Linked DNA regions of Homo sapiens: all the other regions are linked to region 2. Evidence: promoter capture Hi-C in 16 types of primary human blood cells and fetal thymus (Javierre and others, 2016). All regions are on one chromosome and are shown on one strand. Each heading gives the region's core, a stretch centred on a gene start or on the middle of the fragment in contact. The rest is flanking DNA. Distances are from core to core; before and after follow the strand shown.

Region 1 (6,503 bases), core at 4,004-6,503, 270 kb before region 2:
TTTCAGCAGTTTTTCCTGCAGTTTCTTGCCAAATCTCCCTTTTGTCCACCTGTAACAGCCTGCAGCACTTTCCCTATGCTGGAGTTCTATGTTTTAGGCCTGTTCTCTGCCTCTGCCCTGGCCAAGACTTCTGTGGCAATGTCAGATGCCAGTGGAGGCTGCTGGCAGGCGTGGACGTCTCAGATGTCTGATCCTTCAGGAGCCCCCTCCACGGGGCCCTGGCTAGGCAGTGACCAGGATGTTTCTGAATCCCCTTAAGTTAATGGTGGCCACTTAGGCAGCGGAAGTGTCATGAAAGACTCTTCTGTCCCCATGGCTGGGCCAAACCAGGGAAGACGCTGACATCAAGCACAATTGAGAACAAGCAGCAGTAGGCAATGTTCTGGGGCTATTAATTCATCCTGGGGGAAAAAACCTCACAGTGGATTAAATTGGTTTATGTAAAGTGCTGAGAAGAGCCCAGCCTGGGCAACATGATGAAATCTTGTATCTACAAAAAATACAAAAATTGGCTGGGCATGGTGGCATGCACCTGTGGTCCCAGTTACTCGAGAGGCTGAGGTGGGAGGATCACCTGAGCCTGGGAAGGTTAAGGCTGCAGTGAGCCGTGATTGTGCCACTGCACTCCAGCCTGGGCAGCAGAGTGAGACCCGGTCTTAAAAAAAAGAAAAAAAAAAAAAGAAGAGTGGTTGGCACATAGTAAACACTCACATACATATTAGTCATTGTTCCTCTGTTTCCAAAGGTAGGAAGAAAGTTCCCAGGAGGTGTGCTTAGAATGTGGGTAGGCAGATACCACTCGGGTATTTCCTGAGCACCTATGCCATGGCACACAAGTGCTGGGGCCACAGTTAGGGCTCAGGACAGGCACGGCCCCCACGCTCTTGGAGCTGACATTCTAGAAGGCAGGTGGATCCTAGATACAACAGATACATGACGTAATGTTATGTAGTGAGAAGTGCTAGAGATTGAGGGAGGCTACTGTTTTATTAGAAGTGACCAAGGCAGGCCTCTAAAGAGGTTGCCTTTGAGTCAAGGCCTGAAAGATAAGGAGCCAGCCGTGGAAGGCACATTCCAGGCAGGACCACAGATGCAAACCCCAAGGCTGGAGCTTCCAGAGCTTGTTCCCAGCAATTCACAGATGCCACTGTGGCAGGAGGGCAGCGGGGGAGAATGGCAGGAGATGGCATCAGAGAGGGAGCCAGGTGGACCTTAGGTTCTTTTGGTTGAAAATAACAGAAACCCACCTTAGACCCACCTAAGCCTCAAAGAATTGTGAGATGCCTCCTGAGGCCTAGGACTTGCACTGTCTCCTGGCATCAGGATCGATAGGCCTGAGGCCTAGGCGATTTTCTGTCTCCATCTCCCATCTCTGTCTCTTCTTTATCTCTGCTTTCTTCTCTCTTTGGGTTTCTCCAGGCATTTGGCCACCTCATTGCTCCTTCTTTTATGGGATTTCCAGGTCGCAACCACAGATGGTCACCTCTCATCCAGTGAGCTATGGCTGGAGAATAAGCATGGCCATCCCACCCGTGCCTGTGTACATGCACAGTTTTCATTCAAAGGGGACTATAAGGCCAGGCACAGTGACTCACACCTGTAATTTCAGCACTTTGGGAGGCTGAGGTGGGCGGCTAACCTGAGGTCAGGAGTTCAAGACCAGCCTGGCCAACATGGTGAAACCCCATCTCTACTAAAAATACAAAATTAGCCAGGTGTGGTGGCGCACGCCTGTAATCCCAGCTATTCCGGAGATTGAGGCAGGAGAATCGCTTGAACCTGGGAAGCGGAGGTTGCGGTAAGCTGAGATCCCGCCATTGCACTCCAGCCTGGGAGACGAGAGAAACTCTGTCTCAAAAAAAAAAAAAGTTGGAGAGGGGACTCTAGGAAGCCTGAAAGACCCACTCCCCTGCTGTCCTGGCCTAGGGTACATTTCCCTTTTCTCATATGAAGCAACATCATATCATGGTTAAGAACATGGCCACATTGGCCGGGTGCAGTGGCTCACGCCTTTAATCCCAGCACTTTGGGAGGCCAAGGCAGGCGGATCACAAGGTCAAGAGATTGAAACCATCCTGGCCAAAATGGTGAAACCCTGTCTCTACTAAAAATACAAAAATTACCTGGGCGTGGTGGTGCATGCCTGTAGTCCCAGCTACTCGGGAGGCTGAGGCAGGAGAATCGCTTGAACCCGGGAGGCAGAGGTTGCAGTGAGCCAAGATGGCGCCATTGCACTCCAACCTGGGCGATGGAGCCAGACTGTGTCTCAAAAAAAAAAAAAAAAAAAAAAAAGAGTGTGACCACATTGTCTGGATTCAGAGCTCTGCCACTTGCTAGCTGTGTGACCTTGGACTCATCACCTCACTCTTGGGGCTGCAGTTTTCTCACCTGTAAAATGAGGATGCTAAAGCCTTTTACTTCAGGGTGTGGTTCAGAGCATTAGACAAACTTAGGTAAAGGACTCAGTCTGAGCCTGATACACAGTAAGCACTCAAAGTATTAGTTTTCATCATCATCGTTGTCATCCTTACTTTTCCTTCCTGAGGCCGGATGGTGCTCTACAGTTCAAGATAGGACTTGGGAATAAAGAGCGTAGGATTGATCTCAGCTCTGTGACCTTGCCCAAGTGAGTAACAGCTTTGGTTTCTTCATCTGCGTAGTAAGGACAAGAAAGAGCTTACAGGGCTCGATCATTGGATGTACGTTTGTCGTCTGAGATTTGGGGCGACTGGAAATTCAAGAGATCCCAAGTTCCCTGCTCAGTGCAGCCCCAGCTCCTGATCACACTTGAACGCGAGCTGATGGCGGGCTTGGTTCTAGGGCCTGCCTCGCCTCTGTCATGAAGGCTGCGCGGGGCCCTTCTGTGCCGAGACTGGCGCTTGCTCCCCACAAGCCCGTCTGCTGCTCCCTCCGCTGCGAGCCCTCCCAGGTCTGATCCGCCTGTCCCCAGTACCCCGGCATGCGGCACTTTTCCTTCTTCTCTTGTGAAAGGCAGATCTGGAAGAAGCTTCTGGGGAAATGCTGTGTTTGTGTCTGGTTATATCTATTCCCCAGACGGTGATTCTTAAACCTGGCTGTGGGTTGGCATCACCTGGGGAATCTTGGTAACAGTTGGGATTCTCTGGCTTCACTCCTGGAGCATCTGCTCCCGCAGGTGGAGAGGAAGATCATCTGCTGGTTTGGCCGCCCTACAACCATTCACCATTCTTTTGGGGTTTTCCTGTTGGGAACTGCTCTTCCTCCATCCCGTCCGTTCACTTACTGAGACCGCTGTGTGCAATTTATTATTTACCCCAGGCACTGGGGATATGGCAGGGAATCTGGAATATGCCCTTGAAACTGGAATTGTGTCTGTCCGTTAGATCACAGTACCGTAAGGCTGTCACTTTCTGATTTTTATAATTGTACTGTGATCCAGAGATTCTTCTTAGGAAATACCCACATCTTGAGGGGTTACAAACAAGAGCAAATTAACTGGAAAAGGGAAGCAAACCAGTGTTGGCTGAACAAACATGAAAATGACTACAATGTTTATCTTCAGTTTTGGGAGAATTGTCATGAAGACTCAACCACAGTGTCATCCTTTGTACAGAATAGGATTCTAATCAGGAGACCAGTGCTCATGTGCACAGCTTTGAGTGTGAAGATCTAAAAATTTTAGTTGGTAGGATGATTACAGATTATTTTCATCTTCCTCTTTACAGATTATTTTCATCTTCCTCTTTAAACTTTTGTATATTTTTCACATTTTCTAGAAGGAAGTTTTAGAAACAGAAGTGGGAAAAAAAACAACTTAAAAAAAGCCCCGGGCCAGGCGCAGCGGCTCACACCTGTAATCCCAGCACTTTGGGAGGCTGAGGTGGGCGGATCACGAGGTCAGGAAATAGAGACTATCCTGGCCAACACAGTGAAACCCCGTCTCTACTAAAATGCAAAAAATTAGCCGGGCATGGTGGCGGGCGCCTGTAGTCCCAGCTACTCGGGAGGCTGAGGCAGGGGAATCACTTGAACCCAGGAGGCGGAGGCTGCAGTGAGCCGAGATCACACCACTGCACTCCAGCCTGGCGACAGAGCAAGACTGTCTCAAAAAAAAAAAAAAAAAAAAAAAGCCCCACTGTTGTGGAATGTCCTGGTCTACCTGGTTTGGACTTAGAAATGCCTTAGGAGTAGCCTGGGCAGTTCAGGTCATTCCTTATCTTCCTGCCATAGGGATTGGTTCAAGGAAGGGAGGAGGTGAGTCAGTCCAATCAGAATTAAGACAGGTCTTTCTCTGGAGCTCCCAGGAAAGAAGAGGAGCTTTCTTCCTATGGAGGTGCCAAGTTGTAGAGTGTAAGCTTAATGCTGCTGGGGGCCTGGGGACCATCTTTGCTCAGAGGGTCGAGTGGAAAGGAGATGGAAATAATTCATTACAGACAAATTCTTTGGGTAACTGAACTTCTCAGTAATGGGAGCCAAAACATTGGCCCTTTTTCCCCTCAAGTCAGTTTGAATTGGGTCTCTGCCACTTGCAACCGAAAGAGTCCTAAGTAATACAGTAATTTTAGTGGACCCTAGAATCTATATTTAAATTTAAAAAATTCTCTGCCAGGCGCAGTGGCTCATGCCTGTAATCCTAGCACTTTGGGATGCCGAGGTGGGTAGATCACTTGAGGCCAGGAGTTCAAAACCAGCCTGGCCAACATGGTGAAACCCTGTCTTTACTAAAAATGCAAAAACTAGCCAGGTGTGGTGGCAGGCACCTGTAATCCCAGCTACTCAGGGGGCTGAGGCAGGAGAATTCCTTGAACCCGGGTGGTGAAGGTTGCAGTGAGCCAAGATCGTGCCATTGCACTCCAGCCTGAGGAACAGAGTGAGACTCTGTCTCAAAAATAAAATAAAATATAAAAATAAATAAATAATTCTCCAGAAATGATTTGTATGAATCAGATATTTGAGAACCACTTTGCTAGACTTTCCTGAGTGGCGGTTCTTAGCTTTATGTGATCAACAGACTGGCCTGGGGAACTTGTTAAAATACAGCAGCTCTGTTCCACATTGCTGGAGATTCTGGTTTGGGGCCTGAGGCCTGGGTATCTGCATTTTGAACACCATCCTGGGTGATTGCATACACTTCAGAGTGTGTGTATGCACAGAGGATTCTTGGCCGGGCACGGTGGCTCACGCCTGTAATCCCAGCACTTTGGGAGGCCGAGGTGGGTGGATTACAAGGTCGGGAGATCCTGGCTAACATGGTGAAACTCCGTCTGTACTAAAAATACAAAAACAATTAGCCAGGCGTGGTGGCGGAGGCCTGTAGTCCCAGCTACTCAGGAGGCTGAGGCAGGAGAATGGCGTGAACCCGCATTCTCAGCTTACAATCCTATCCATAGAGGGGGCCCAGGATCCTTCTCAAATGAATGAAAGTAGAGTTTAAGTCTGCAGTTTTTTTCCTCTTTGGAAAAAAACATTCCTTTCCTGCCCATGACCCAGCCTTGCACACTGGCCGCTAAACCTGGCGTATCGCATCATGTTTCAGGAGGAATTTGGTCAGATCTGTGCACTTTATTAGGATAATGGTTGACCCAGTGTGTACCTCCCCAGGTAACTTTGGAAAGAGCTGGATAGAGTTCATGACCAATTCGGAACAAAGTCTGCTCTTAGGAGGAATTTTGCTAATAGTGGGAAATATTCAAGAGGGTAATCACTGACTTAGTTCAAGGTAATTTAAGGTGAATGCATTCCTCATGTGTGTGTGTGTGTATGTGTGTGCATGCGTGCCAAACTTACTTGAGGTGAAGGAGGGGCGAAAGCCCTTTTACTCGAATGAAAGGAAATCTTTTGAATTGACCTATCGGTTCAGAAAATCCCTTTTCAAATCTTCCCTTGAGCAGCTTTGCTTTTGAGGCCCCTGAAAGCTGGGAAAGAAGGGGCTGTGAGGCCTGACTGACTCCTCGCTGCTGGCTGTACCCCCAGGCACGTGTGATTTTGCCATTGTCTGAAATCTTGCTTTCCCCAGAATTTGTGCCCCATGCTGAGTTCCTACAGCTCAGCCACCAGGAATTAGGGCATGGGTTAGCCAGGATTATTCAAATTTAATCTGATCATCGTTAAACATTTTTGCTTGCATCCTCCCCAAAAGAATTTTGATAAGCCCCTGTATACCTCCTTGTACACTGTAAAGCTAACATCTAAAATAAGCTTATGGTAACTTTAAATTTGTCTTATTTGTGGGAGAAGAAAATAGTACACATTTTGAAGGTCGAATGTAATTGAAATATTTTATGATGTGGTTAGATAAAAAAAAGTTTTTACTACCTTATTGAGTAAAGTACACAGAAGCTGAAAGCAATCATGTAAATTTTTCCCTGGGAATTTTTTCTTGGTGGATCTAGAAAAATTCAGTGGTCCTGAAAAATGTTCCCTTTGAACAAATCAGAGCCACTAACCTATACTGCTTTGACATTCATGATCCTACTATGGTTCAGAAAATCCTATTTTTAAAGCCCAGTTTCATGTTTGGCAGA
Region 2 (5,816 bases), core at 1-2,500:
TATCCCTACCTGAACACATGCAGACACACAACACAAATCACACACAGTCACACGGGATTCACACACAAAGAGAGACAAATCCCAATACTCACAAAGGAGAAACAGACAAACCTCACACACGTGCACACATAAATATCTACTGAAAAAGACAAATATCCCAAGTTCCATAGTGTGGAGACAAATCACACAAATAACCATGCACAAAGACACATCACATATCCACAGACACACACCAGAAACACATCACCCACACAAAGACACACAACATGGAAACATCACACCACACACACATACACCCCCTCATGCATCCAAAGACACAAGCATGTCAAAAGACAGGAACTACAGAAACCACTTGCGCCCCTAGGCACTTACCCATGTATCCAAAGACACAACACAAACCACACACACAATATCCAGACACACAACACAAAGAAATCACACAGATTCACACAGGTACACACACACATTTACAAAGATGCACGATGCGCAACCAGTATCTAAAATATCACACATCCACACAGACACACACACATATAAAACACAGAAACAGCCAAATCCACCCATAGTCACACAAAAATTTACACACAAATACACGCAGCCCTACATACCCAAAAACACAGAACACAAGACAAATGACATATAGTTCCAAAGGACACGGACACACACTGGGAGACCCAAATATCCAAAGATATCTAGTGCAGAATAAAAGGAAACAGACACATGTCCACACACCTATCCCCCAAAAATTCTTAAAAAAACCAGAACACAAATAAGTGATACACACACACACTCCACATCCCAAGACAAAGGTAGTGTGGACTTCACTCCAGTTGCCAAGGCCCCCGCACCCCCGGGTCATTTCAGTCTCTCCCAGACCCGAGGGTTGCAGGGAAGGGATGATGTCTCCCTTCCCCAAAAAGAATCTGGAGGCCCCCCACGCCCTCCACCCCGCCAGGGAGCGGTGCATCCGACACCATTCTTGTCAGAGACCCACAGTCACACACTCTCGCACCCCCGCGCAGCCCCGCACTCGGTGACAGCCCCCCAGACACCCCTTCGGCCCCACCCCCGGTCGCCACACACACACAGGCCCGCGTAGACCCGCCCGCGCTTCCTCTCCGCCTCCCGCCGGCCCGCACCACCTCAGGGGGCCAGGGATGACAGTGGCCATCTTGCTCCCCGGGTCCTGCCCCCAGCAGGTCCCCGCCGGGTCGGTCCTCCCAGCGGTCGGGCGGGCGCTGAGGCCGCCCATCCATTCATTCCCGGGGGGCGGGAGCACGAGGGCCACGGCCAATCGCGGCGACGGGGCGGGCCCGCCCGGGCCATGCTGGGAGTGGTAGTCCCAGGCCAGGGGGCCCCCGGGACCCCGCGGGGACGGGACGGCGCGGAGGAGGGGCCCGGGGCACGCACCGTCACTCACCCGCCCTCACTCGTCCACATATCCTGCTCTCGCGTGCACACAACCACATGCACACCTGGACTCGCACACGCCCACGCATGGCAGTTTACACACACATTCACGCGGATACTCACAGCCTCCCACACACTCCTACTCACACACCTTCGCACGGACTCACACAGCCACACGCACACACACTGCAATACTAAGAGACGCAGAGACACCTCCCAGGTGCCCACACAGACTTCTCACCAACATGCTTCCAGCAGACACCCCCTCACCGCCCCCCACCCAAGTCCCTCCTGGCTCCAGAGACCCCACCCGGGGCTGTCTCTCCCAGCAGCCACGCTCACGGTCACCCCGCCCTGCTCAACGCCTTCTGCAGGCCTGACAGCAGCAGTGCAGGTTAGAAACAGTAGTCACACCTCCAGGGTTCAAATCCTAGCTCTGCCACTTGGTGGCCATGTGACCTTGGCAAATGACTTAACCTTTCTGGGCCTCAGTTTCCTCATCTGTAAAAAGAGGATGATGCCTCACTGGAGTGTTGTGAGGATTAAATGAGTAAATATAGGTAAAGCATTTTAAGAGGTGACTGGCAGGCCAGGCGCAGTGGCTCACACCTGTAATCCCGGCACTTTGGGAGGCCCAGGCAGGTGGATCACCTGAGGATGGGAGTTCGAGACCAGCCTGGCCAACATGGTAGTAGTCTCTACTAAAAATACAAAATTAGCCGGGCATGGTGGCGCATGCTTATACTCCCCCACTCAGGAGGCTGAGGCAGGAGAATCACTTGAACTCAGGAGGTGGAGGTTGCAGTGAGCTGAGATCGTGCCATTGCACTCCAGCCTGGGCAACAAGAGTGAGACTCCCTCTCAAAAATAAATAAATAAATAATAAGAAAGAAAGAATAATGCGGCCAGGTGCGATGGCTCCAGTCTGCAATCCCAGTACTTCGGGAGGCCTAGATGAGAGCACTGCTTGAGCCCAGGAGTTTGAGACCAACCTGGGCAACATATCCAGACCCCTGTGTCTACAAAAAAAAATTAAAATTAGCTGGGCATGATGGCGCAGCAGTGTAGTCCCAGCTACTTGCAAGGCTAAAGTGGGAGGATAGCTTGAACCTGGGAGGCTGAGGCTGCAGTGAGCTGTGGTCTCACCACTGCACTCCAGCCTGGGTGGCAGAGCGAGACTCTGTCTCTAAAAGCAAACAAACAAACAAACAAACAAACAAAAAACTAAGTAAGCAGGGCGCCGTGACTCATGCCTGTAATCCCAGCAATCTGGGAGGCTGAGATGAGAGGACCGCTTGAGCTCAGGAGAACAGCCTGGGCAACATAGCGAGACCTGGTCTCTACTAAAAAAAAAATAAATAGCTGGGCATGGTGGCACATGCCTATGGTCCCAGCTACTCAGGAGGCTGAGTCAGGAGGATTGGTTGAACCCAGGAGATCGAAGCTGCAGTGAGCTATGATCACACCACTACACTCCAGCCTGGACAACTGAGCAAGACCCTGTCTCCAAAAAAAAAAAAAAAAATAGATGCTCAGTAGATATTTGTTGAATGAGTAAATGCACCCATCATGTGCTGGGCACAGTTCACCCCGGGATGCTTTTATTATCTGCATTTTCCAGGTGAGGAATCTGAGGCACAGGAAGGTAACCTCACATGCCCGCATGCCCTGGCGGCTCTTTGAAGGTAAGACTGAAGGAAGGAGGCAGGCACCCCTGACGGCCCTCCCCAAGTAGTCCTGACCTCCTTCTCTCTCCCACTGTCACCCACACTGACTCCACCCGAAGAGATCCCCAGGGAGTGAGCAGACCCACTGAGTCACAAACTGACCCAGTCTCTCTGCAACACCACCACCCCGTCCCCCCTCCCGTCTCACCCCTCCTCCCCCTTTCCCCTTCCCACCCCTTCTCCCCCTTTCCCCTTCCCCTCTTCCACCCGGACCCCTGTAGAGCCAGCATTCAAATTTGGGCGGCTGCTGTAATTAACACGCCCACAAACGCCCTCATCCACCAGGGGGCGCCCCAGCCGACAGAAGTGGCCCGCTAGCCTTCACCATTTTTGTCACTTGAAATCCCCCCAAGAGAGAGATCCAGTCAAGGCCTCCTACACTCACGGTCACTTCTACACACACACACACACACACACACACACACACACACTCCTCTAGTCTTAGACCCTTTCCACAAACTCGCCCATCTAAGCCAGGTAAGGTCTTGGCCGGCCCCTCTCCTGGAACAGGAGGTAGGTCTCTGATTCACATATGGCCTGGAGTGGTGACAAGGGGATTAAGTGAGGGGCACTGACACCCCTACGATCACTCTGGCCTCCAGGGCCCTATAGTGGCCACCTCACACCTTACCCACGGTGAGCTGTGACCCCACCTTCCTCTCTCACCTCCCATTAGCTCACAGGTCCCGTAACACACCCTCTTACACTTGATTCCCACACCGCTAGCCTCAGACACGCAGACTCACTCCTGCCCCACCCCAAACTCTCATGTCGATTTGATTAAGAGAAGCCCGAGTGTAGACACTGAGTGCAGACCTTCCTAACAGTCCTCCTCTACCAGCAGAATTTCTATTTTTCTTTCTTTTCTTTTCTTCTTTTATTTCTCTTCCTTCCTTCCTTCCTTCCTTCCTTCCTTCCTTCCTTCCTTTCTTTCTTTCTTTCTTTTCTTCTCTTTCTTTCCTCTTTCTCTTTTTCTCTTTTTTTTTTTTGGACAGCGTCTCACTCGATGGCCCAGGCTGGAGTGCCATGGCATGAACACAGCTCGCTGCAGCCTCCACCTCCCAGGCTCAAGCGATCCTCCCACCTCAAACCCCCAAGTAGCTGGGACTACAGGCCTGTGCCACCGCACCCGGCTAATTTTTGTATTTTTGTAAAAACAGGGTGTCCCTGTGTTGGCCAGGCTAGTCTCAAACTCCTAAGCTCAAGTGATCTGCCCACCCTGCCCTCCCAAAGTGCTGAGATTACAGGCATAAGCCACCATGCCCGGCCCACCAGCAGGATATCTACCCACAGACGCAGGCTGACACTTGCAGCGGGCTCTCCTTTCTTTCCTTCTGCCCTAACCACCTGCACACACCACTCCCACATACTCTCCTACACACTTGAACTCCCAGTCCTCTCCCTGGCCCAAACAATCCTCCTGCCCCATCCCCCAATGCCCTGTGTGGGAGCTGGCCCACAGTAGAAATCAATTTCATAAATCAATATTGATACTACTAATAATAATCACTACATTTGGTCAGTGTCAGTCTCTGTGCTAACTGCTTTACAAAGATGGCCTTAGCCCCACGACAGTCCCATCGGGTGGTAAGGGCTGTTAGAAGCCCCCATACACAGATGGCAAAACTGAGGCTCACGGCAGGGAACATTCGTGGCTCAAGCTGGTTTTGGAACTCAGGCAGTCGGAACTTCCGAGGGCGGCACCCTGCAGCTCCTTCTCCCCAGGGGATTTGACTCACATTCTTTCAGGAGCCAGGGAGTCCCCACCTTCACCCCCACAGAGACCTTTTGGAAGGGAAGGGCACAGAGGGGTAGGGCCCTCCCAGTCCAGGCTTACTGTAGCTGGGCCCCTGCTCACGGCTGTAGCACACCTCCTCCCAGGGGTCTGGGCCAGGGTCAGGGTGAGGGGCCCCATCGCCTGTAGATCCACCAACCTGCACAAGAGCCCCGTTCCCAGCCATTTTGCGGATGTCCCCTCACAGGAGAGACAGCTGTCTGTGTGTGCCACTTAGGGTGAGAGGGCAGCAGAGGGGTGTCACCATCATACACCACCTCACACGGACCCGAGCCCCACACACCCGCTCCCGGCACCCTGCTCACGGCGAAGCCACACGTGTAGGCGCTTGCCTCTAAGTCCCTGCCCCCCTTCCTCTCCCAACTCCCACCCTCCACCTCCCACCCCCATTCCCGCCAGAAACCAGAAGCAACTGGCGGCCTCTGGTCCAGCCAGCAGGCGCATCCCTTCTCGTGGGTGGGGTAGGGGGGCGCTCCCTCTCTCCCTCTCTCCCCCCACCCCCCACCCCCGCCCCCAGCCCTCGATGTTCAAGGTCAAGGCAGCCAGCGCACGGGGTTGGGGGAAGGGTGGGGGAGGTCGCCCCGGCCCCTTTGTGCGACGCCGCGGGCGCTCGCCCTCCGCCTCCTCCACCAGGCCCGGGAGGAGGGGGAGGGGAGCGCCTCGCTCGCCTGCGGGGAGGGAGGGCGGGAGCGGCCGAGTGCCTGTCACTTGGAGCCCGCTGTCACCGCCTGGGAACGGGGGGTGGGGAGCGCTGGGACGTGGAGTCCGGGATCCCGAAGAGGAAGCAAGAGCGAGATGGAGAGGGGGAAGGGGAGGTGTGGAGAGCGCGAGGGATGGCAAGGAGAGGAGAGGGTCAGGAGGGGCCAGGCTCGGACCCAGGCTTC
Region 3 (6,006 bases), core at 930-3,429, 360 kb before region 2:
GTTATGTACTAAGAAAAATTCTTCTGCCTTGAGATTCTGTTAATCTATGACCTTACCCCCAACCCCGTGCTCTCTGAAACATGTGCTGTGTCAACTCAGAGTTGAATGGATTAAGGGCGGTGCAGGATGTGCTTTGTTAAACAGATGCTTGAAGGCAGCATGCTCCTTAAGAGTCATCACCACTCCCTAATCTCAAGTACCCAGGGACACAAAAACTGCGGAAGGCCGCAGGGACCTCTGCCTAGGAAAGCCAGGTATTGTCCAAGGTTTCTCCCCATGTGATAGTCTGAAATATGGCCTCGTGGGAAGGGAAAGACCTGACCATCCCCCAGCCCGACACCCGTAAAGGGTCTGTGCTGAGGAGGATTAGTAAAAGAGGAAGGAATGCCTCTTGCAGTTGAGACAAGAGGAAGGCATCTGTCTCCTGCCTGTCCCTGGGCAATGGAATGTCTCGGTATAAAACCCGATTGTATGCTCCATCTACTGAGATAGGGAAAAACCGCCTTAGGGCTGGAGGTGGGACCTGCGGGCAGCAATACTGCTTTGTAAAGCACTGAGATGTTTATGTGTATGCATATCTAAAAGCACAGCACTTAATCCTTTACATTGTCTATGATGCCAAGACCTTTGTTCACGTGTTTGTCTGCTGACCCTCTCCCCACAATTGTCTTGTGACCCTGACACATCCCCCTCTTTGAGAAACACCCACAGATGATCAATAAATACTAAGGGAACTCAGAGGCTGGCGGGATCCTCCATATGCTGAACGCTGGTTCCCCGGGTCCCCTTATTTCTTTCTCTATACTTTGTCTCTGTGTCTTTTTCTTTTCCAAATCTCTCGTCCCACCTTACGAGAAACACCCACAGGTGTGTAGGGGCAACCCACCCCTACACAAGCTTCCAACTTTTTGACCATAACCACAAGCGACCCTTCTGTCACAGCCTCCCAAGTAGATGAGACTACAGGCACATGCTACCACACCTTTCTAACTAAGGTCTCTCCTTATCCAAGTCTAAACTTGTTTTGAATTGACAACATTCACTGCTCTTGCACTTTGCAGGCTTCCTACACTCCTGGAGAATATTGTACTCCTTGGAGATCATTGCCCTACAAAAATCAAGTTTCTTCTTACTCCCTTCACACTCCCAGATAGTAACTTTTTACTTCACTCTAAAAATAGAATGTGGGTCAGATCCAGTGGCTCACACCTGTAATCACTAGCACTTTGGGTGGCTGAGGCAGGAGGATTGCTTGAGGCCAGGGGTTTGAGACCAGCCTGGTAAACATGGCGAGACCCTGTCTCTATAAAAATAGAAAAACATAGCCGAGCATGGTGGTGCACGCTTGTAGTCCCAGCTACTCGGGAAGCTGACGTGGAAGGATCACAGGAGTTCAAGGCTGTAATGAGCTATGATCACGGCACTGCACTCCAGTCTGGGTGATAGAGCAAGACCCTGACAAGAAACAAAAGAAAAGAAAAGAAAGAAGGAAGGAAGGGAGGGAGGGAGGGAAAGGGCGAAGGGAGAAGGGAGGAAGGAAGGAAGGAAAGAAGGAAGGAAGCAAAGAGAGAGAGACAGAAAGAAAGAAAGAAAAAGAAAAAAGAAAGAAAAAGGAAAGAAAAAGAAGGAGTGGCTTGGGAAAAAATAGAATGTATTAGTTGGGAACTTGCTTAACTTGTGACAACTAAAATGAGTGATTGAGGCATAAGTCTCAAATCATGGAGGTTTATTGAGCCATCTTGAGAATCAGTAAACATGAGTCACAGAAACATCTGTGGCTGTTTGGAGAATCTCCAAAGAGCCTACAAAGAGGTTCTCAGGAGGTTTAGTGTTTATACGTTTTCCTTAAAGGCGGAGGTGGGGGAGGCCCACAGTAAGACAAATGATTACATAATTGTGAGACTTTAGTTAGTGCCCAGTAAATCTACCTTTTACATAAGACAAGGTGTACATTTGAAGAAAAAGGGAATAGGAAGCATGTCTCAGGAAGGGGTGAAGGAATCAAAAAGGATTACTCTTGTCTTTGTTCTGTACCAGGTAAGATAAGCCAGTAGTCTTTTGAAAGGGCTGGTTTAGGGCCAGGTGCGGTGGCTCATGCCTGTAATCCCAAAAATTTGGGAGGGCAACGTGGGCAGATCACTTGAGCCCAAGAGTCCAAGACCAGCCTGGGCAACATGGCAAAACCCTGTCTCTACTAAAGATACAAAGAAACTAGCCAGGAGGCTGAGGTGGGAAGATCACCTGAGCCAGGGAGGTCAAGGCCACAGTGATCCATGATTGTGCCACTGCCCTTCAACCTGAGCAACAGAGGGAGACCCTGTCTCAAAAAATGGGGGGAAGCAGGGAGTTCTGTTTAGCCCTTAGGGAAGAAAGGCTAATGACTGGTAGCGAAGGAGGGGGTATAACAAGGCCTCTCTGATCTCCCATCTTATTATGGCCATGAACTCAGCTTCCAAGGTTTCTGTGGGGTTCCCTTGGCCAAGATGGGGTCCATTCAGTCCATTGGAGACTAGAATTTTATTTTTATTTCTCATTTGTCACAGCTACAAACTTTCCTATCTTTTCTTATTCCCCCATGAACCCTGAAAATTTGGGACAGGTGTCAATTTAGAAAGTTTATGTTGCCAAGGTTGAGGACACGCGCCCGTGACACAGCCTCAGGAAGTTCTGACGACATGCGCCCAAGGTGTTGAGGCACAGATTGGTTTTATACATTTTAGGGAGATGAAACATCAATTAATATATGTAAGAAGTACACTGGTTCTGGCTGGGCGCGGTGGCTCATGCCTGTAATCCCAGCACTTTGGGAGGCTAAGGCGGGTGTATCACCTGAGGTCAGGAGTTCAAGACCAGCCTGGCCAAGATGGTGAAACCCCGTCTCTACTAAAAATACAAAAATTAGCCAGGTGCGGTGGCGGGCGTCTGTAATCTACTCGGGAGGCTAAGGCAGGAGAATCGCTTGAACCTGGGAGGTGGAGGTTGCAGTGAGCCAAGATGGCACCACGGCACTCCAGCCTGGGTGACAGAGTGAGACTCTGTCTCAAAAAAAAAAAAAAAAAAAGTACATTGGTTCCCTCCAGAAAGACGGGAACAACTCAAGCAGGGAGGGGACTTCCAGGTCACAGGTAGGTGAGAGACAAATGGCATTCTTTTGAGTTTCTGATACGCCTTTTTAAAGGAGGCAATCAGAATATGCATCTATCTCAGTAAGCAAAGGGATGACTTTGAATAGAATGGGAGGCAGGTTTGCCCTGAGGAGTTCCCAGCTTGAATTTTCCCTTTAGCTTAGTGATTTTGGGGGCCCAAGATTTTTTCCTTTCACACCCCTCACTACGCTGGAAAGGTACATCCCTGTCCCCTTGTCTAAAGCTAATTCTTCCACCTGGAGTCTGGACCCCATTCTCTCTTGCTTTATCAGGGACCTGGCTTATCCCAGTATTCCCCTGTTCATCCTACGCCTTCAAGCTTACCATCTCCATGATTTGGCCACGTCAGCATGACAAACATGACAGAGCAGGAGTATCACCACCTTGGCCAAGCACTGTCGTTTTAAGTTTACCTTGATTAAAAACTGCCTAAATCCAAAGGGCATCAGCCTAATGGCTAAGGTCAGCATGACCATAAACCACAAATAACATCTCCGACCAGACACATTCCAGACTCCTCCCTGACCAGAGACATGCCAGCCCCAAGATAACCTCCCTGCCAGCTGGAGAGATGTCAGCCCCAAGATAACCTTCCCTCCAACTAGAGACATTCCAACCCCACCATAAACTTCTCCCCGACACAGAAACATTCCAAGCTCTCTCACCAATAAACACTTAGTCTGTAATAGAGCACGCTCCTGACTGAAATCAGCCAGAAGCCCCTCTCAGGTTTATTGCTCCAAAATAAACCTGTCTTGACTGTTGAGTGCTTTTCATGTTTCTTCCCTCTCTCTTTATTTAACTCTTTGTAGAGTTAAGGAAAGTGCTTTAACTTTCTTTGCTTAAGTGCTTAAGTATCTCCTGTTGACAAAAAGAGTCAAACTCTGTAAAATATTTGCAGAGATTTATTCTGAGCCAGATACAGTGACCATGGCCAGTGTTACAGCCTCAGGAGGTCCTGACAACATGCACCCAAGGTGCCCGGGCTGCAGCTTGATTTTATACATTTTAGGGAGACATAAGGCATCAATCAATACATACAAGATGTAGATTGGTTTGATTTGGGAAGACTGGACAACTGGAAGTGGGGTGTGTCCAGGTCATAGGTGGATTCAAAATTTTCTAAATGGCAGTTGGTTGACTTTATCTAGGCTGGGCATGGTGGCTCACGCCTGTAATCCCAGCACTTTGGAAGGCCGAGGTGGGTGAATCACCTGAGGTCAGGAGTTCGAGACCAGCCTGACCAGTATGGTGAAACCCAGTCTCTACTAAAAATACAAACATTAGCTGGGTGTGGTGGTAAGCACCTATAACCCCAGCTACTTGGGAGGCTGAGGCTAGAGAATTGCTTGAACCTGGGAGGTGGAGGTTGTAGTGAGCCGAGATTGCACCACTGCACTCCAGCCTGGGTGATAGAGGGAGACTCTATCTCAAAAAAAAAAAAAAAAAAAAAAAAAAAAAAGACCTGGAATCAATAGAAGGAGTGTCTGGGTTAAGATAAGGGGTTGTGGAGACCAAGGTTCTTACTATGCAGATGAAGTGTCCAGGTAGCAGGTTTCAGAGGTAATAGATTATACATGTTTATTATGAGACTTAGAAAGGTGCCAGACTCTTAGTTAATTCTCTCATTCTCTCCTGGATCAGGAAAAAGACCTGAAAAGGGAAGGGGATTCTCTACAAATGTTGATTTTCCCCACAAGAGTCAGCTTTGCAGGGCCATTTCAAAATGTGTCAAAGAAATATATTTTGGAACAAAATACTTCCATTTCTTTCAGGGCCTCCTATCTGTCATGTTGGTATCTTATTGCTACAAAAAGTATGTTTTCTCAGTCTTAAGGTCTCTGTTTCACTGTTCATGCTGGTCGGCTGTGCCTGAATTCCAAAGGGAAGAAGGTATAATGAGACATGTCCAACCACCCATTCCCATCATTGCCGGAACTAGTGTTTCAGGTTTACCTTAGAATGCCCTTGGCCAAGAGGAGGGGTCCATTCAGTTGTTTGGGGTGCTTAGAGTTTTATTTTTGGTTTCCACTCCCATATTGAAATCTTCTCACCTGGCCGGGCATGGTGCCTCACACCTATAATTCCAACACTTTGGGAGGCTGAGGTGGGCAGATCACCTGAGGTCAGGAGTTTGAGACTAGTCTGACCAACATGGTAAAATCCCGTCTCTACTAAAAATACAAAAATTAGCCTGGCATGGTGGTGCATGCCTGTAATCCCAGTTACTTGGTAGGCTGAGGCAGGAGAATTGCTTGAACCTGGGAGGTGGAGGTTGCAGTGAGCCAAGATCACACCACTGGACTCCAGCCTGGGTGACAGAGTGAGAGTCCATCTCAAAAAAAAAAAAAAAAAAATTCTCCCCACCTGACCTTATGGGCTGCTGCTTTCTCTCCTCCTCCCACTTCCTGGTCAATCGAGTTTAAATTGTCTTTTCTTCTTACCATCCATGGTGAGAAGGTGTGTTAGTGAAGCAGCCTTGTAGTCTGGAGTAACACCCAAGGTTCCTTGTCTCACAGCCACAGGAACAAGAATGCAGACACACAAAGAGTGAGGTTGAGAGTGGAAGTTTACTAAGCGAAAGAAAGAAAATAGCTCTCTGCTGCAGAGAGGGGTCCTGGAAAAATGGGTTGCCCAATCCATAGTGAAACGCAGGGGTTTTATAGGTGATCTGGTGAGAAGATGGTGTCTGATTTACATAGGGCATGAAAAACTGATTGGATCAGGTGTGCCATTGGCATAGGCGTGAATCTTCGGTAACCCCAGCCTGATCTTTTATCATGCAGGTGGGTTCTCTGCCTAGACTGTGCTATGTTGCCCATTTCTTTATTGCTGTACAGGTGGTAACAAAAAAAGGGAA
Region 4 (6,068 bases), core at 3,083-5,582, 340 kb before region 2:
TCACACCTGTAATCCCAGCTACTTGGGAGGCTGAGGCATGAGATTTGCTTGAACCCGGGAGGCGGAGGTTGCGGTGAGCTGAGATCGTGTCATTGCACTCCAGCCTGGGCAATAAGAGTGAAACACCGTCTCAAAAAAAAAAAAAAGAGAGAGAGAGAGATGAAGGTCTAGATCCTGGTAATTAGGCCTTTCTCCAGTTGGCAATGAAAAGTCCCAGCCTCCAGTCAGTCCCAAATTAGAGAGTGGGAGCAACGGTGTGTGTCAGTGCCTTGGTGAGATGAAGATCAGCTTCAGGCAGGCTCTTCCAGGCAAGTTCTAAGATCCCATACCGGGCAATGCCCACGGGAAGGATGGTGCGCACACAGTTCTGCCATGGGAGGGGTACCGCACCCTGGAACTCCTGAGGACTTCTAGGAGTATGAGAACTGCCACAAAACAGGCAGCAGAACAGCCGTTCCCCGGGAACTAGCTCTGTGGCTTTTAGGGCCTCTTCGTAGATGATCTCTTGGGGTTGAGGTTCCTCTCTCATTAGCAGCTCCTGAAGCAGCTTCTGGATTCTGGGGGACTTAAGTTGGTACAGGTCCATGAGCTGGTAGAACTGTTCCATCCAAGCAGTGCTGTCTTTTGGATATCGCTGCTGCAGCATCCGCAAAACATGGTACAGTGCCACAAATGTCTCCCACAAAGGCAACTCTTCCTTTTTTTTAGAAATGGGCTGTGTCTTCTTCTCTAACTTGGGCAGTTTAGGAAACCTGCGTTTATCCTTAAAATCCCAGAAGTCCTTTTGAAACATCAGTGCCAGGGTTTGTTTTTCCACAGAGGCATGGGCACTTGGAAAAATGTCTCTGGTGGCAGGATAAAAGTATTGCATTTCCATCTCCTTGTGAGCAATGGATATCTGCTGTGCCCTCTCACTTCTGTAAGGTTCTCCTAGAAGATGCCAATTTTTAGCCCTTGGGTCTGGAATCCTCTTGGTAGCTAATGGGGACTTTTGTGTGGGGACAGCCAAAGGTTTTGGCCAGCTCTCCTTTTCCTTTGCTTTTATAGGAGGAATCACTTTCAGGTATTTTGGACTCATGGACTGTCTACTTGAGATCCTTGTGTCTTGTGACTCCAGGGCCTGTCTGTGACGGTACACAATGGCTTCATGTTTGGCCAGATGCAGCCATTCTAAGTTTCCCTTTGAGGCAAGGTCTTTGAGCAGCTGGCACAGTCTATGGAAACCATCCCTGGAAAGCTGTTCTCCCGCTTCCATTCGTTCTAGGACATGGCGGATCCACTCTACATCTGAGAGGCTTACGTCTGCATGTTGTTCCTTAGCTGGGATTTGGGAGAGAGGTAACTGTACCTCAGTCTGTCCCATCAGAGGTGGATGCTGCAAAAACCACTTCCACCAGGCACCTAGTGGTTTGTGTTGGAGTTCCTCAGCTTCCACGGTCCTCCTTAATATGTGGGACATAAATGGGGTCTTTAAGTCCTGTGCTTGGGACTCCAAAACTGTACCCAAAACATGTGGAGGTATGGGTTCATATTTTCCCATCACTTCTCTTTCTTTATCCATTGTCCCTAAGAATTTCCTGGGTATTTCAACTACTGTGGCCTTTTTATCTTCCCAGGATATTTGTTTCTCCGGCACTGGCACTGGTGTTTTCTCTTTCATCTCCAGAGCTGTTGACATCAGTTTCTTCAAAGGGCTTTTTAGAACTCCTAGTCTTATAGCCCTGCCTTTGCCATGAGGAACTCCTCTTAAAATGGAAAGGACTCTTTCCCTTCCTCTTAGGCTCTTTCTTCTTTGTTCTTGTAACTTAAATTGTTTTTCTTTTTTTAAGATCTCTTTTTCCCTGTCCACCTCTTCTTCCAATGAGCAGCTCTCCTCTTCCTCTTCCTCGTCACTCAAACTTTCTGTCTCTTCCTCACTCATAATTTCTTCTTTCTCCTCAAACACTTCTTCCTTCTCCTGAACCTCCTCCTTCTTCTTTTCCTTTTTCTTCTTCTTCTTCTCCTCCTCTTCTTTCTCCACTTGCTTCTCCTCCCCTTCCTCCTCCTCCTTCCTTTCCTCCTCCTCCTCCCTTTCCTCCTCCTCCTCCCTTTCCTCTTCTTCCTCCCTTTCCTCCTCCTCCTCAGAAGACAAACTCTCTTGCTTTTCTAGTTCATCTAACAGGCTTTCCATTTCTTCAGAAAAATGCTCTTCACTTTCCACTTCATCCACTTGACTGGAAAACTTTTCTTTTGGTTTGTCACCTCTCTTGGCCTCTTTCCTCTTTCTCCACCTTCGTTTAAGGAATGGGATTACCTCTTCTTCTTCTATTCCTCCTTCCTCTTCATCATCCAGTATGACTTCTGAATGCTTTCTGGCCAATTTGCTCTCTTCCTCAGTCATTTTTTCTTCTTTGTTTATCATTCTTCTCATTTTGTTGGCCAGTTTTCTCTGCTTCCGAGCCAGTTTCTTCTCATCTTTAGTCAGTTCTGATCGTTTTTCAGAAAAATCCCACTCTTTGATATCCAGCTTACTCTGTTCTATACTCAACCTGCGCTCCTTAACAAAGAGTGCCCTCTTCATCTTTGTCATTTTTATTTCTTCCTGTGTTAGTTTCCTTTCATCCCTGGTTAGTTTTTGAAGTGCCTTTAAGATTTTGTTCAGTTTTGCTGGTTCCTTGGAAAGGCTCTCCCTTTTTTTAATCAACTTCCTTGAAGCCTTGGCTAACTTTCTTTGCCCCTGGACAAATATTCTCTGTCCTCTAGTAAATTCCAGTTTTCCTTTGGCAATTTCGCTTTCCTCCATGGCCAATATCCTGTCTTCATGTAGCAGTATCTTCTCCTCTAGTGACAATTTTCTCTCAAATAGTTCTTGTTCAACTTGAGTCATTTTCCTTTGTCTAGAAGTTTCTGGAGTCTCTCCCTTAGACAGTGTTTCTTTTCCCTCAACCAGTCTCATCTTCTCCTCAGCCAGTCTTTTCATTTCCAGGTTCAATGCCTTTTCTTCCTTAGCAATATCCAACTCTCCTCTGAGCCGTTTCTTTCCTTGGACCATTGCCTTCTCCAGAGCTAATTTCATTTTTTCCTGGGCCAATTTCTCCTGTTTTTTGGCCAAACTATCCTCTACTTGGACCAATTTTTTCTCTGTTTCAGCCAGTTTCTCCTTCTTCTTGATCACAGTCTCCTTTTCCTGTGTCAGCTTCTCCTCTACCTGAGCCAGTATCTTGTTGAACATTCCCAATTTGTTCTTTACTTGCACTAATTGCTTTTTGCTGTGGGTGAGTCTTTCTTTATTATAGAGTAGGTTCTCTTTCCTCTGAGCCAATTTTTCCTTCTCCTGGGCCAGATTCTTCTTTTCCTGAGCCAGATTCTTCTTCTGGTACAGTATCATCTTGTTCTTTGTGAGTTCTTCCATGCTGTTGATCCATCTTTCCCTTTTTTGGGCCAGTTTCATCTTCTTCTCAATCAATTGCTCCCTTTTCCGTCCCAGTCTTTCCTCTTCCTCAGGCATTTTTTCCTTGTGCTGGGCCAGTTTCTCCTTTTCCTGGATCAGCAACTCTTCTTCCTGGGCCAGTTTTGTCTCTTCTTCAGACAGTTTCTCCCTTTGCCAGGCCAATGCCTCCTCTTCCTCAGCCAGTTTCTTCTTTTCCTCAACCAGTTTCCCCTCTTCCTGATTCAGTTCCTCTTCTTTCCAAGACAGTTCTTCCATGTCCCATTCCAGTTCCTCCAATTCCTGGGCCAGCTCCTTTTCTTGCCAGTCCAGATTTTGTTCCCTCTGGGGCAGTTCTTCCACTTTCTGGGCCAATATGTTTTTCACCTCAGCCAGTTTCCCTCCTTTCTTTGCTAGTTTCTCTTCTTCTCTAGCCACTTTCTCCCATTTCTTGGCCAGTTTCTTCCTTTTCTGGGCCAATTTCTCCGCCTCCTGGCTTAGCTTCTCCCCTCTTTGGGCCAGTGTTTCCTCTTTCTGGGCAAACTTACCCTCTGCCTGGGCCATTTCCCTGTCATCCTGGGTTATTTTCACGTATGCCTGGGCCAGTTTTCTCTCTTCCTGGGCCAACTGTCTCTCTTCTTGTGCAAGTTTCTCTTCTTCTTGTGCTAATTTCCTCTCTTCTTGGGCTCGTTTTTTTTCAGCTCGGGCTCGTTTCCTGTGTATTCTGGCCCATTTGTGTTCTTCTTGGATGTGTCTCTGCTCTTCTGTGACCTGCTGTTCTTTTTCTTCCCCCTCCCGAGACACTTCTTCCTCCAAAGTCACTTCTTCCTCATCCTTGTACTGTTGCTCCTTGGACTTAGATGATAACATATTTTCCCAGACTTGTTTCCACTCCTCCCATTTCAGCTTCTTGTCCTCCTGAAGCATTTCCTCCTCCGGGGATAGCTTCTCTCCAGCCTGATGTAGTTTCTCCTCTTCCTGAAGAAGCCTCTTCTCCCATTCTTCCTTCCATGCCTTCCAGGATTTCCTTGTCTCACCATGGACCTGTTTCCACTCATCCCAGGCCTTTTTCCAGTCCTGCCAAGATGGTGTCCTCTCAATCATAACCAGTTTTCCTTCTTGTTTGACCACTTTCTCCTCTAGTGTGGCCATTTCCTCCACTTCCTCACTCATATCCCTCTCTTCTTTGGTCATTTCCCTCTTTATTTTTCCTACTTTTCTTTCCTTCTGGACAGCTTTCCTCCCTTGCTTAGGTGACTTCTGAAAGGTTTTCTTCTCTTCTTTCTTTGATATTTCTTTTCCCATGGTTACATTACCTGGTTCTAAAAAAATAACTTTCTTGCCCTTTTTCAAAATCACTTGGGTTTCCTCCAAGCCCAGCATGTCTCTTGCTTTCTTTTGTGCTTGTTCTTCTTCCCTTGGCATCACTTCCTTGTGTCTGATCACCTCTTGGGTCACACCTTGTATCATGTCCTCTCTAATTGCTCCTTCCTGGATAAAAATTGGTTTCTTCTCTGGCGGGACTACATCCCAATCAAGGTCCTCAAGCAGAACCTTACTTTCTTTCTTCAATAGGGGGCAGATCTCCTGAAAGAGTTCCCAGCTGGGGTGCCTATCTACCAGCATCTCCTGAGCAAATGTCACTAGCTCAGCGTTTAGGTTTTCTGACATTTTTGTTTGGGAACCAGATATCCTCAGGGCCATAAGACGACATAGATCGTCCCTCCATGATGAGCCATCTCCAGCGGTTGACCTGCGGCCAGATATTCCAGAGGCTCCCCGCCCTTGGATTTTAACCTTTTTAGTAACTGGCTGTTCCATTACAGGAGGTGTAGTTTCCTCATTTATAACTTTGGCTTCTTTTCCCTTCTTTTTGTGCTTCTTTTTGAGTTTCTGAGCTGTTGCTTTCTTGTCTCTTTTGTCACGTATTTTCTGCAGCCTCTTCAGGGTCAATGCAATGTGATCCTTCGAGATATCTTTCTCTTGAGAATCAACATCTTTTGAGAGCTTTATTACACTGGTGCTTGAAGACCATTGGGAATAGACGGATGCTTCCTCCATCTCAATTGGTGCGGCCTCAGTCCCACTTTCATCCTCTAAGAGGCCTGGCTCTGTGCTCATCTGTTTAGAGTCTCTCTCTTTCGTCTTCTTGAGACCCCGCAACCATTTTTGGCCTGCAGTAAAAATCGAGAGATGGAGGTAAGCAAAGTATGGGAAGCGACATGAAACCCTTCCCAATATTAGGTGTGAGCTAAGAAGAACTGTCATATAAGAAGTAACAACAGAGAGAACTGAGGCCTTAAAAAAAAAAAGCATTCTCTTTGCTTTATTCCTAGCCCCCTACTCCTGCCAAATCCTAGAGAGCTAGGCCTTAGAGTCTTCCTGAGTTTGAGTGGATCCTTCCTTAGAAAGTCTTTTTTTTTCATTGCTTTCATAAAAATCAATTTTACTGAGGTATAATTTAAACAGGATATACCCATTTTAAGCAAACAGTTTGATGAGTTTGAAAAATGTATACACTTTTGTAATTACTGCAATCACAATCAGGATATAAGGCATTTCTATTATCCCCCTAAATTCCCTCCTATATAGTGTCCCAGTCAACATCTATCTACCCTTAACCTCTGGCCCTAGGCAACCACTGATCTGCTTTCTGTGACTG

The links. The method cuts DNA at HindIII sites, captures the fragments that hold promoters and counts their contacts. A CHiCAGO score of 5 or more calls a contact.
Region 1: a contact is called between a fragment that was not itself captured here and the fragment with the promoter of DPF1 in region 2, in 2 of 17 cell types (total CD8 T cells and M2 macrophages). The highest score is 6.4, in total CD8 T cells.
Region 3: a contact is called between a fragment that was not itself captured here and the fragment with the promoter of DPF1 in region 2, in 2 of 17 cell types (total CD4 T cells and non-activated CD4 T cells). The highest score is 6.2, in total CD4 T cells.
Region 4: a contact is called between a fragment that was not itself captured here and the fragment with the promoter of DPF1 in region 2, in 13 of 17 cell types (M2 macrophages, M1 macrophages, naive CD4 T cells and 10 more). The highest score is 13.8, in M2 macrophages.

Annotation. Positions count from the first base shown.
Region 1 is chr19:37,947,809-37,954,311 of GRCh38, forward strand. All of the region lies in intron 1 of SIPA1L3 (signal induced proliferation associated 1 like 3), which reads left to right. Among named protein-coding and RNA genes, the nearest start is that of SIPA1L3, 44 kb to the left of the region's middle. The HindIII fragment of the contact is 1,843 bases long and covers 4,333-6,175 here.
Region 2 is chr19:38,222,972-38,228,787 of GRCh38, forward strand. It overlaps DPF1 (double PHD fingers 1), which reads right to left and starts at 1,251. Exons shown (of 12, transcript NM_001135155.3): 1 at 1,143-1,251. The coding sequence starts at 1,171. RefSeq lists a silencer at 1,016-1,585 and an enhancer at 4,508-5,278. The HindIII fragment of the contact is 14,724 bases long and covers 1-5,816 here.
Region 3 is chr19:37,866,252-37,872,257 of GRCh38, forward strand. All of the region lies in intron 2 of LOC105372395 (a long non-coding RNA gene), which reads left to right. Among named protein-coding and RNA genes, the nearest start is that of WDR87, 37 kb to the right of the region's middle. The HindIII fragment of the contact is 2,568 bases long and covers 896-3,463 here.
Region 4 is chr19:37,884,697-37,890,764 of GRCh38, forward strand. It overlaps WDR87 (WD repeat domain 87), which reads right to left. Exons shown (of 6, transcript NM_001291088.2): 6 at 127-5,580. The coding sequence ends at 236. All of the region lies in intron 4 of LOC105372395 (a long non-coding RNA gene), which reads left to right. Among named protein-coding and RNA genes, the nearest start is that of WDR87, 19 kb to the right of the region's middle. The HindIII fragment of the contact is 9,115 bases long and covers 1-6,068 here.